Regions from separate parts of the Homo sapiens genome. Here region 1 is linked to region 2. Evidence: promoter capture Hi-C in human tissues and cell types (Jung and others, 2019). All regions are on one chromosome and are shown on one strand. The core of a region is centred on a gene start or on the middle of the fragment in contact, and the rest is flanking DNA. Distances in the headings are between cores, read along the strand shown.

Region 1 (5,982 bases), core at 2,550-5,049, 99 kb before region 2:
TAATGTTTTGTTTTAAGAAATGTAACATATATACCAAAAAGCATCCGAAATATAAGTGTACAGCTCAATGAACAATGACAAAGCAAATACATCACCCAGATGAAGAAATAGAACATTACCAGATTTCCAGAAGGTCCTCTAGTGTTTGCTGTCTTAAAATCACTATCTGCTTCTTTTTCCCTTAAAATAATCTCCCATCCTGACTTCTAACACTATACTTTAGTTTTAATTATATGAGTGGAATCATAAAGAATTATTTGACATTTGGCTCCATCAATGTTGTTGCATGTGTATTCATTTTCATGATTCTTGAATACCTTCTATGATGATACCACCCTTTTTTTGTTTGTTTGTTTGTTTGCTGATGGGTATTTTTTCCAGTTTAGGTTCACTACAAATAATACTGTTATGAACATTCTTACATATGTCTCTTGTTGGATAGAAACACTCACTATAAAGATTTCTATTTTTCCCAAATTATTTTTTTTTCAAATCATAGCCAACAACTTCCAGGAGAGCCCCAGTTTAGACTACTCTCTTGCCCTCCAAATTGCTACATTTAATCACCCAATCAACATCTCCATGTAAAGGTTTAATAGTTATCTCAAAATTAACAGCCCCTAACTTGAACTCCTAACCTTCTCATTCACTATTTACAAAGTACCTACCCTGTGCTAGGCTGTTGTAGACATTTGACATCACAACATTTTCACCTCAGAAAATAATTTTCTTCTTTTTCAGGTTTCTATATGCAACACTTAAGAAATTAATTCTTTCCTTCCATTTCTTTGGCTAAACCATGGAATCATTCTTGACTCCTTTTCTCACACCCATATCCAATCCATCAGCAAATCCTTCATGTCTATCTTCAAAATATCCATAATTCAACCACTTCTTATAGGTCTTGTCTAAATTATCATTCTCTCTAGTTGGATTATTATAATAATCTCCTAACTGGCTTTTCAATTTCTGTTCTTGCTTCCCTTCTCCAACACAGAGTTTATTCTCAATACAGTAGCCAGAGTGATCCTTTAAAAATATAAGTCAGATCATGTCATTTCCAGCTTACAGCCCTGCAATAGCTCCCTATCTCATTCAGAAGCTCCTGCAACGCACTCCACGGTCTAGGCCCTCCACTGCCTCTCTGCTCTTGTCCTGTAGCACCCACCTACTGTGCACTCTCATCAGCCACACTAGCCTCCTTCCTGCTCCCTGAACCCACTAGGCACACTGATTATTATAAACCTCAGGGCTTCTACAATTGCTGTTCTATCTGAAATTCTCTTCTTCTAGATACCACGACTCACTCCATCTTCAAACCTTAGCTTAAATATCATGTTTTCAGGTAAAACTTTTCCTAACCATCCATCTGAAAACTCCCCCATGTTATCTAAACCACACTACTCCTATTCCCTTCTCCAGCTTTATTTTTATCCATAGCTCTTACCACTTTGTTATATTTACTTGTTACTAGTCTTCCCTGAGCAGAAATTAAGCTCCATGAAGATAGAGATTTTTTTTTCCCCGTTTTGGACACTGTTATATTCAAATGCCTAGGATAGTACCTGGCACACAATAGACACCCAATATTTTGTTGGATGGTTAAGTAAATAAGAACTTTTAAATGAAGGCACCATATTAAGATGCAAAATTTTCAAAGGAAATAAAGATGTCTTCAGAAAGAATTCATCACCAGCAGATCTGCACTGAAAGAAATGTGAAAGGAAGTCCTTCAGGAAGAAAGAAAATGTTATCAGATAAAAACTAAGATCTCCACAAAAGAATGAAGAGTGCAGGAAATAATAATTACATGGGCAAATGCATAAAAATTTTACCTAAATATCTTTAAAAGATAACTGATAAATGGGATTATATTGATAAACAATATTCAATTTATCCAAACGAAAGGCAAGATCAAAATTAAAAGGGAACAAAGAACAGATGGGAAAATTATAAAACAAATAGCAAGATAACAGACTGAAACCCAACCCTATCAATAATCATATTAAATATAATAGTACATTTAAATGTAAACACCTCAATTAAAGGCAGAGGTTGTCAGATTGGATAAAAAAGACAAAACAAGCTATATGCTGCCTACAAGAAATGCACTTTAAATATAAAAACAAACAGGTTAAAAACAAAAGGATAGAAAAAATATATACCAAGCTAATGCTAGTCAAAAGCTAGAGTAAGGCCAGGCACAGTGGCTCACTCCTACAATCTCAGCACAGGCTTGCCCTGGCTAACACAGTGAAACCCCATCTCTACTAAAAATACAAAAAATTAGCCGGGCATGGTGGCGGGCACCTGTAGTCCCAGCTACTCGGGAGGCTGAGGCAGGAGAATGGCGTGAACCCAGGAGGTGGAGCTTGCAGTGAGCCAAGATCGCGCCACTGCACTCCAGCCTGGGCAAAGGAGGGAGACGGAGTCTTAAAAAAAAAAAAAAAAAAAAAAGAGTCTAAGGCTTGCCTAAGGCCAGGAATTTGAGATCAGCCTGGGCAACATGGCAAGACTTGATCTCTACAGAAAATGTAAAAATTAGCCAGGCACGGTGGTACACGCCTGTAGTCCCAGCTGCTTGGGAGGCTGAAGCAGAAGGATCACTTGAGCTCAGGAGTTCGAGGCTGCTGTAAGCTATGATTGCACCACTGCACTCTGCACACTGCACCCAGAGGCCTGGGTAACAGAGTGAGACTCTTTCACTAAAAAGATAAAAATAAAAAATAAAAACTGGAGTGGTTTTATTAATATTAGACAAGAATATCAAAAGGTTACAAAGAAGGTCATTTCAAATAATAAAAGGGTCAATTAATCAAGAAAGATAATCATCCCAAACATGTATTCCTCCAATACAGAGCTTAAAAATACACGAAGCAGTAAGTGATAGAACTGTAAGGGGAAACAGACAAGTTCACAATTACAGTCAGATTTTAATACCCCTCTCTCAATAACTGATAGAAAAAGCACATAGCAAATCACCAAGTATATAGCAGACTTGAGCAACTGTCAACCAACATGATTGATCGACATTTATTGAACACTCCATCTAACACCAACACAAAACACATTCTTCTCAAGTATACACAGAGCATTCACAAAGACTATATTCTAAGCCACAGAACAAGTTCTGGTTGATTTAAGAGAATGTTACCTGAGCACAGATGAATTAAATTAGAAATCAAAAACAGGTCTCTGAAAAAAAGCCCCAAATATTCTTATTTACTCATGGGTAAATAAGAAATTAAAAGGGAAATCAGAAATATTGTGAACTCAAAGTTATTCACCATGTTAACATATTAAAAAAGAAAAACCATATGATCACCTCAATATGAGAGAATGCAGAAAAAACATTTGACAAAATCCAACATCTATTCCTGATTTTAAAACTCAGCAAACCAGGAATAGAAGTAACTTCCTCAAGCTGATAAAGGGCATCTATTAAAAAAAAAAAAAAAACTACAGCTAACTTCATACTGAAAGCTTTCTCCCTAAGATAAGAAACAAGACAAGATGTCCACTTTCACCACTTCTATTCAACATTGTTACCGCAAGTTCTTACCACTGTAATCAGACAGGAAAAAGAATGAAAAAGCATCCAGATTGGAAAGAAGTAAAACTGTCTTTATTCACAGACAACATGATCATCTATGTAGAAAATCCAGTTGATTTTACTAGAATAAGTGAATTTTAGAAAGGTTACAGAATAGAAGATCAATAAATAAAAACCAATTGCATTTACATACACTAATGAAGAACTAGAACCTGAAATTTTAAAAGCATCAAAATTTACAACATCAAAAATATAAAATACTAAGGGATAAATATGACAAAAGAAGACCAGCACATTGAAAATTGAGAGAAATTTAAGAACACTTAAATATATGGAGAGAAATATTTTGTTCACAGATAGGAAGATTTAATATTATTAAAATGCTGTAATAGGCAGAACAACGGTCCCCCTAAAGATGTCTATGTCCTAATACCCGGAACCTGTAATATGTTATCTTACATAGCAAAGGGATTTTGCATATGTGATTAAGTTAAAATATCTTGAGCTGGAGGGATAGCCCTGAATTATCCAGGTGAACCTATTGTAATCAGAAGCATCCTTACAAGAGAAAGAGGGAGGCAGAAAGAGTCAGAAGGAATGTGATTGCTGGCATTGAGGATGGAAGGTGGGTAACAAACTAAGGAATGCAGGCAACCTCTACGTGTTAGAGAAGGCCAGGAAAAAAAAAAAAAGATTCTTGAGCCTCCAGAAGGAATGCAGTCCTCCTGACACTTTGATTTTAGCTCAATAAACCCATTTCAAATTTCTGACCTCTAGAACTATAAGCTAATGTTTGCGTTGTTTTAAGCCACTAAGTTTATAGCTTGTTACAGCAGCACTAAGAAATTAGTACAGACACTAATTCTCCAAGTTGATCTATCCAATCCCAATCAAAATTCCAAATTTTTCAAGAAATGCAAGAGTCCAAAGAGACTATATGCCAAGCATTTAAGTCAGTGAGTTAACAATAGCAAAGTATCCACTATGTACTGATCCCTCTTATAATATGGAGAAGAAAAAAGACATAGAAAGTCTCTGAACTTGAACTTCATTAATTCTTCATTCAACAAATATATGATTGCAGTATCACTGAACAAAACACAGATCCTAATCCTAATGGAGCAAGTGTGAAATGGTGATGCAGAGCAAGAGTACAGACAATACACAACAAATATAATTAGTGACATACCAAAGGTGGGATGTTGGGAGCAGTACACTGCAGGTGCTGGCAATAAAGCAATGCTTGGTCTGTAGAGAATTTATAAACAATTAAAAAGCTGACTAAAATCAGTTTATTACCACCATGTGCCAGTAATTCTAATCAATGTCAGTGATAAAAATACTCCTTCCTGAAAAAAACATTTTGTTGGTCTAAGTTCCAAATAATTACTGCAGTTACTGCTGAGTTTAAATAATATATATGTAAGCTTCAAAATATCAGATTTGTTATTTATTCTTAAATTGTTGTCTACATATAAGTTCATTGGGGAAACTCCCAGTTACAGCTAACCCCCATCCATGCAAACTTAGGCACATACACTTGTTTCAAAAGCAGTGCACCAGGCTTTCTTAAACCTGAAGACTGCTTAACATGAAGTTCTTAATCCAACCCTTTCTTAGGATGCAGTTGGCTTTTCCCTCCCTGTGGTACTACATTCTTGTGCATTTAAATGATAGATTCAAAATAAAACAAAGATAGCACAGTGATTGTAAAGACCAAGAAACAACTTGAGGCACTCCAATTCTGTCATTTTTATGGGACCTTTTGGTATTTGTCTAAAATTTAAAACACTGTTGCAAGTGTAAATAGCAAGATGTAACTTATTTAATAAGTGCAAATTTTAGTTCACAAAATATTTTACTAAATTTGAACAATATCTTTAACATTGAAATTTATTCTCTTCAAATTAAGTGTTTTGAAACTAAAGAACGTTAAGAGGGGATAAAACATATCAACAATTTTATTAATAGTTGCGTAAATTGTACCTTTTGGAAATGCTTAGGTTTTTGTTGTTGTTGTTTTCCTTCCCCCAGCGGGAGTCTTGCTCTGTCACCCAGGCTAGAGTGCAATGGCACCATCTTGGCTCACTGCAACCTCTGCCTCCCAGGTTCAAGTGATTCTCCTGCCTCAGCCTCCTGAGTAGCTAGGATTACAGGTGCATACCACCACACTTGGCTAATTTTTTGTATTTTTGGTAGAGATGGGGTTTCACCATGTTGGCCAGGCTGGTCTCAAACTCCTGACCTCGTGATCCACCTGCCTCAGACTCCCAAAGTGTTGGGATTACAGGCATGCACCACCGAACCCAGTCGGAAATGCTTAATTTTACTTAAAAAAACTTCACTTATTAGTTAATGAACAATTTCATAAAATATCAGTCTGTAACTGCAGAATCCAAGTTCAAACAGTTAACTAGATATAAAAACAA
Region 2 (5,807 bases), core at 1,067-3,566:
TCAGTTTTCCTGCTCTATTTTCATGCCCTATTCCTGAGAATGAGTCTAGCTTCCTCACAACTTGAAGCCCATCAAGGGCAAGACCTGGGGCTGCTCCTCCTCTGTCCCCTGGACTGTTGGCACACCACCAGTGTCCTCCATTAGGGTTTCCACATAAAGGAGGCAGGAGAAGCCAGATCTCATCAGGGTTTATCAAGGGCCTGATTTATCTAATAGTCATTGCTGCACCTAAAGTTGGTCCTAGATGGTCGTGAATGGGTGCCACTAATGAAATTGAGGGCGAGTGAGGTGCTGGTAGGGTGGAATTAAGAGATCCTGACCCCTGGCCGGCCTGTGGCAGCAGTATCCCAGGAAGCAGAATTTTGGTCTTATCCTCCATCTCCTCCAAGCATCCCCTCCAATGCCATTAGCTAACTTCTAGGGTCCCTCACTCATTTGTAGAGTTGAAACTTATTAATCTGCTTTCTGTCCACCCTTGTGTTGGTGGAGAGGTCCCTGAGATAAGGTGGACCTGCTCCACCCTCAGGGCACAGACTGCACTGTGTAATCAGTGCTCAGGGTCACAGGAGCTAATGGGCCATGGGAACCAAAGGCAGGGACATGACCAAGGTTTTGGTGATTAGGAAAGGGTTCCCAGAGGAGGAGATGTCTCTACCATAGGTCATGGGGAAGCCTATATGGGCTGACTTCCTGAGCGGGGTTAAGGCAGACTAACTCCCAGCTAGACAAAGAAGCTCAAAGAAGTGTGTTAAATGGAGGTCTTCCCTCCTGTGGCTGGTAGACCAGGGCAGGCTGGGCTCACAGCTCTTTAAGAACACTTCTTCTCAAGGAGACCCAAGGACACTCAGGGATTAGGCTTCCAGCATCTGTGCAGAGAACTGTCAGCTCAGAGCTGCTCAAAAGTAAAAATGCCAGCTACCAGTGATGTCATCACCCTAGTCATTCCTCTCACTGTGGGAGGTCCTGTGGTCCAGTGGGTAGAGCAGAAGAGCCCCTGCTAGGCTGCCCGCCCCGCATCCTGCTCTCCAAATTCCTACTCTGGATGGAGGAGGCGAAAGTGGTCACATTGGGCTAAGAATGAGAGTAAAAAAATCATTTGAAGAAAAACTTGATGTTATTCCTCAGAGAGATGGCAGAGCCAGGGGACCTTTTTGCCTCCCTCCTGTGAGACTTTGCTGTGTGTCCGCTCCAGCATTAACCTCGGCTCCAGCCTTCTCTGGACAACTCCCCTCCCCTTAATGCCCAATCTGTCCCCCTATCCATTTCTGAGCTAATCTGGGGTATCAGGCTGTCCATGGTGTTGGAGGGGGTAGGGCTATACCTTAGGCTGAGCTAGTGAAATCTGTCCATAAGCCCGGACACTGTACACTGGGAGAGACTGGGAGAGAGGACACACAGTTGGATCCTTGGCGGGGGTTGGGGGGAAGGGGGCTGGGCTGCAGACTGGAAGGGAGTGGGGGCTGTGCAGCTGCTTGGGGGTGCAGGTAGGGGACTGGGTGGAACAGGAACTCACCCAGCGTGGGTCCACATAGTAGGTGTCATAATGTGGATGGGAACACAGGGAGAAGGGGCTCCAAAGCCAGTTCCAGAGTGCTGGGGCGTCCGAGGAACCGGCCCAACCGCTCCCCGCTGCAGCCGGCTTGTCCCTTTCTCGGAACTACCGAGGGAGAGGCGCGTGCGGAGGTCGGCGTTCGGATCTCGCATCCGTCACTGTTGCCGGCGCATTTCCTCGAAGTCTTACCTCGAAGGGCTGGGTCCCACCCGCGCGCCCTGTGCGTGTCTCCCTGTTTCCCCACGCCCTCCTTGCCTGGCTGCTGCGAGGCTTTGCAGGGGAAAGACTGGCGCGGGGTTCGCACCCTGCCCATGTCACAGGAAAACCGTGGGAGCCTCCCCGACGCGGCGCATTTCCGGAAGCCCCCTCTCCAGGAGGGTTGCGGGAAGGCCGGGACTCTGCATCCAGACGAACCCGGTCGCCTCCCAAGAGGAAAGTCGGAGACCCAGCTGAGGGGCAAAAATGCCAGGGAAAGGCGAGCCCAGAGCTTGGTGATGGAGAAATTGGGAAGCCACCCCCCACCCTTCAATCTTAGGATGGGGAATTCGCAACTGAAGCCGGAGCTTCAGACTTGGGGCGCACTCCCAGCTTAGCCCAGGAAAGAGATTTAAGGGCGCAGCAGTGTGGATACCTCTCACCCCGGCCCCGAAGGTCTAGCGAGGGTCTAACCTGGGCCCCTTGCCAGGCCCGCCCCCCGCCCCTTTCCAGCCCCCGGCCCGTGCGCCGCTGCCCCTTTAAGAAGCCCAGGTAGGCAGGCCCGGCTGCTGGAGCCGCTCCTATGGCAACCCGCGAGCTGCGGCGGCTTCATGAATATTCCGGGGCGCGGGAGCCCGAGCGCTGCCGGAGGGCGCTTCGGGGGAGGCGGCCGCTGATGTAAGCCCGGCGGGTCGCTGGGCTCCGCTCGGTTGCGGCGGGAGCCCCGGGACGGGCCGGACGGGCCGGGGCAGAGGAGGCGAGGCGAGCTCGCGGGTGGCCAGCCACAAAGCCCGGGCGGCGAGACAGACGGACAGCCAGCCCTCCCGCGGGACGCACGCCCGGGACCCGCGCGGGCCGTGCGCTCTGCACTCCGGAGCGGTTCCCTGAGCGCCGCGGCCGCAGAGCCTCTCCGGCCGGCGCCCATTGTTCCCCGCGGGGGCGGGGCGCCTGGAGCCGGGCGGCGCGCCGCGCCCCTGAACGCCAGAGGGAGGGAGGGAGGCAAGAAGGGAGCGCGGGGTCCCCGCGCCCAGCCGGGCCCGGGAGGAGGTGTAGCGCGGCGAGCCCGGGGACTCGGAGCGGGACTAGGATCCTCCCCGCGGCGCGCAGCCTGCCCAAGCATGGGCGCCTGAGGCTGCCCCCACGCCGGCGGCAAAGGACGCGTCCCCACGGGCGGACTGACCGGCGGGCGGACCTGGAGCCCGTCCGCGGCGCCGCGCTCCTGCCCCCGGCCCGGTCCGACCCCGGCCCCTGGCGCCATGGACAAGCTGCCGCCGTCCATGCGCAAGCGGCTCTACAGCCTCCCGCAGCAGGTGGGGGCCAAGGCGTGGATCATGGACGAGGAAGAGGACGCCGAGGAGGAGGGGGCCGGGGGCCGCCAAGACCCCAGCCGCAGGAGCATCCGGCTGCGGCCACTGCCCTCGCCCTCCCCCTCGGCGGCCGCGGGTGGCACGGAGTCCCGGAGCTCGGCCCTCGGGGCAGCGGACAGCGAAGGGCCGGCCCGCGGCGCGGGCAAGTCCAGCACGAACGGCGACTGCAGGCGCTTCCGCGGGAGCCTGGCCTCGCTGGGCAGCCGGGGCGGCGGCAGCGGCGGCACGGGGAGCGGCAGCAGTCACGGACACCTGCATGACTCCGCGGAGGAGCGGCGGCTCATCGCCGAGGGCGACGCGTCCCCCGGCGAGGACAGGACGCCCCCAGGCCTGGCGGCCGAGCCCGAGCGCCCCGGCGCCTCGGCGCAGCCCGCAGCCTCGCCGCCGCCGCCCCAGCAGCCACCGCAGCCGGCCTCCGCCTCCTGCGAGCAGCCCTCGGTGGACACCGCTATCAAAGTGGAGGGAGGCGCGGCTGCCGGCGACCAGATCCTCCCGGAGGCCGAGGTGCGCCTGGGCCAGGCCGGCTTCATGCAGCGCCAGTTCGGGGCCATGCTCCAACCCGGGGTCAACAAATTCTCCCTAAGGATGTTCGGCAGCCAGAAAGCCGTGGAGCGCGAACAGGAGAGGGTCAAGTCGGCCGGATTTTGGATTATCCACCCCTACAGTGACTTCAGGTAAGGGGCCACAGCGATGATCCTGTGGGTGCCCTGCGCGGTGGCAGGCATGCCTCCTCCTGACCCTGCCTCCCAGCCGGAGTTAACTTTCCTGCCTTGCGCTGGGAGCTCCAAGAGAGGCAGGGCGCCTCTAGGCTCCGAGACACCCCCAGGCCCCCTCCTGCACCGCGCTGGGGGAACTTTCCTCTGGGTTCAGTCACTGGTCTTCTCGGGTCTGGGCTGCATTGGAGACAGAATGAAAAGGTGTTCTGAGCCTGGCCTACCCCTGCCGGCAGCCAGGATAGGGCTCTGCCACCTTAAGCCACATATTCCTCCTCCCCCTTCAAGGCTGCAGAGTCAGGATGGCCATCCTAGAGGCAGCTCCGGGTCATTCAGCCTGCAGAGCAGGGCCGTGAAGAGAGACAGACCTCTTAGCAACGGGCCAGCTCCTTGGGTGCTGACAGCAGGCATTTATGTCTGCTTTCTGGTGCCCTGGGAAGCTGCGGCCGGGTCCCTGGAGGACCGAAGTCACTGGGGCCTCAGGCCGGGATGAAAACCCCCTGCACCCACCGTAACCCTGAGCTCAGCTCCTCATGCTGAGTGGTGGGCCAAGAGCAGGCACCCTGGGCAGCTGGCATCCAGAGCGGCAGGGCTGAATGACCTTGCTCATAGTGATGGGTGAAGATGCCTGGTGTTCTGACTGATGAGCAGCTGTCCTGTGTCCCATGCTTGTCCAGTGGCCCATCCATACCCCAGAGACCCAAGCTCCAGCATCTGCTTGGTCTCTCATGGGCCACTCGTGGGTCCCCAAACAAGGTATGACTGCCAGTCAGGGAGAGGGACCCTGCCCCCTTCCACATCACTTGAGTCGGATGCCACTGAACAGCAGATACCACTGGGAGCTTGTGGGCATATTTGTGCAAAAAGAGGGATTGTTGGTTGTTTCTAGGGTTGGGATCAGGGATGCCTTTACCTAAGTCAAGGTCCTAAGGTTCCCTAGTGCCCCTCTGGGCTTTCGTGATGCATGAGATTGTGATGAAGGTCTGGGAAACACTTTTCAAGCTGGGTTTAATTCTCTCATTCTCTCTTTCTCTGGGCCCTGCCGCCTACTTATCTCCCTTCCTTGCCTACCTTAGTTGCCTGCCTATAAAAATGAGCATTTTGCCAACCCAGAGCCCTCTTTGCAAACTCCAGGGAAGCTGGGTTTGTAATGAGAGCAAAGCCATTTTCCATCCAATGAGAGAGATTTCTCGCACTGGGAATGACCAGTCAGACAACACTCGGTGGCTTAAAATAGGTAGTGAACAGAGCCCCTCCCCCCTTTTTTCCTTTGACAGACTGCTCTTCCTAACCCTAATATCTCCAGGGTTCCCATTCCCAGAAGACTAGGGAGACCAGAGGGCAGGCTAAACAGACAGCCATAGTCATCAAATTGTGTGAGCAAATGTGGGACCCTCCCATCAGGAACGGTGTCTGGGTTCCCAGTGCCAGGTTCCTGAAGAGTGGGCTTGCCTCTGGCCAGTACTGGGCCCTGAGGATCCTGGGCCGAGCTAGAGAGGAGTGAGCAGGGGCTATGTCTCCTCCACCCCCATGGGTGTCCTGGGTTTTTCCTCCTGTCTCTCAACTCTTCAGTGGTGGTGATAGGCAGTTCCAGTACCAACCCCTCGAGATTGCTGAAGGGCCCTCCCCTCCCTTGCCCAGGTCCCTGCTGTTTTTGTTGTCAGAAAGCATCTGTTCAGGGTTCTCATCACCAAGCCCATTGCCTGGGGAGCCTACAAGAGGCCAACCCCAGGCATGCCCAGCCTCCCTCAGCAGCAAGCATTGGCCGGGGACCTTCTGGATGCTGGGCCTGGCCCTTCCTATCTCCCTTACCTTAGAAGTTGGAGAGTGAGGACTGGGTTGATTTCATCAGATAGGATCCTTTTCCCCTTCCTGGTCTTACCCCATTCTGGTATGTCTGTCTGCAGTCCCCCTGCTGCAGAATCTCCCACTAACTGCAGGCTGCCTGGGACATGGCTGCAGGAGAGGGTGTGGGGATAG

What was found. The method cuts DNA at HindIII sites, captures the fragments that hold promoters and counts their contacts. A contact is called where the count stands out against the background at its distance.
Region 1: a fragment that was not itself captured here is called in contact with the fragment with the promoter of HCN4 in region 2 in 5 of the 25 tissues and cell types used here (IMR-90 fibroblasts, aorta, liver and 2 more).

What each region holds. Positions count from the first base shown.
Region 1 is chr15:73,466,156-73,472,137 of GRCh38, reverse strand. The region is part of intron 1 of REC114 (REC114 meiotic recombination protein); the gene reads right to left. Among named protein-coding and RNA genes, the nearest start is that of REC114, 26 kb to the right of the region's middle. The HindIII fragment of the contact is 5,641 bases long and covers 979-5,982 here.
Region 2 is chr15:73,365,467-73,371,273 of GRCh38, reverse strand. HCN4 (hyperpolarization activated cyclic nucleotide gated potassium channel 4) reads left to right here and starts at 2,316. Exons shown (of 8, transcript NM_005477.3): 1 at 2,316-3,788. The coding sequence starts at 3,004. The HindIII fragment of the contact is 7,967 bases long and covers 1-5,807 here.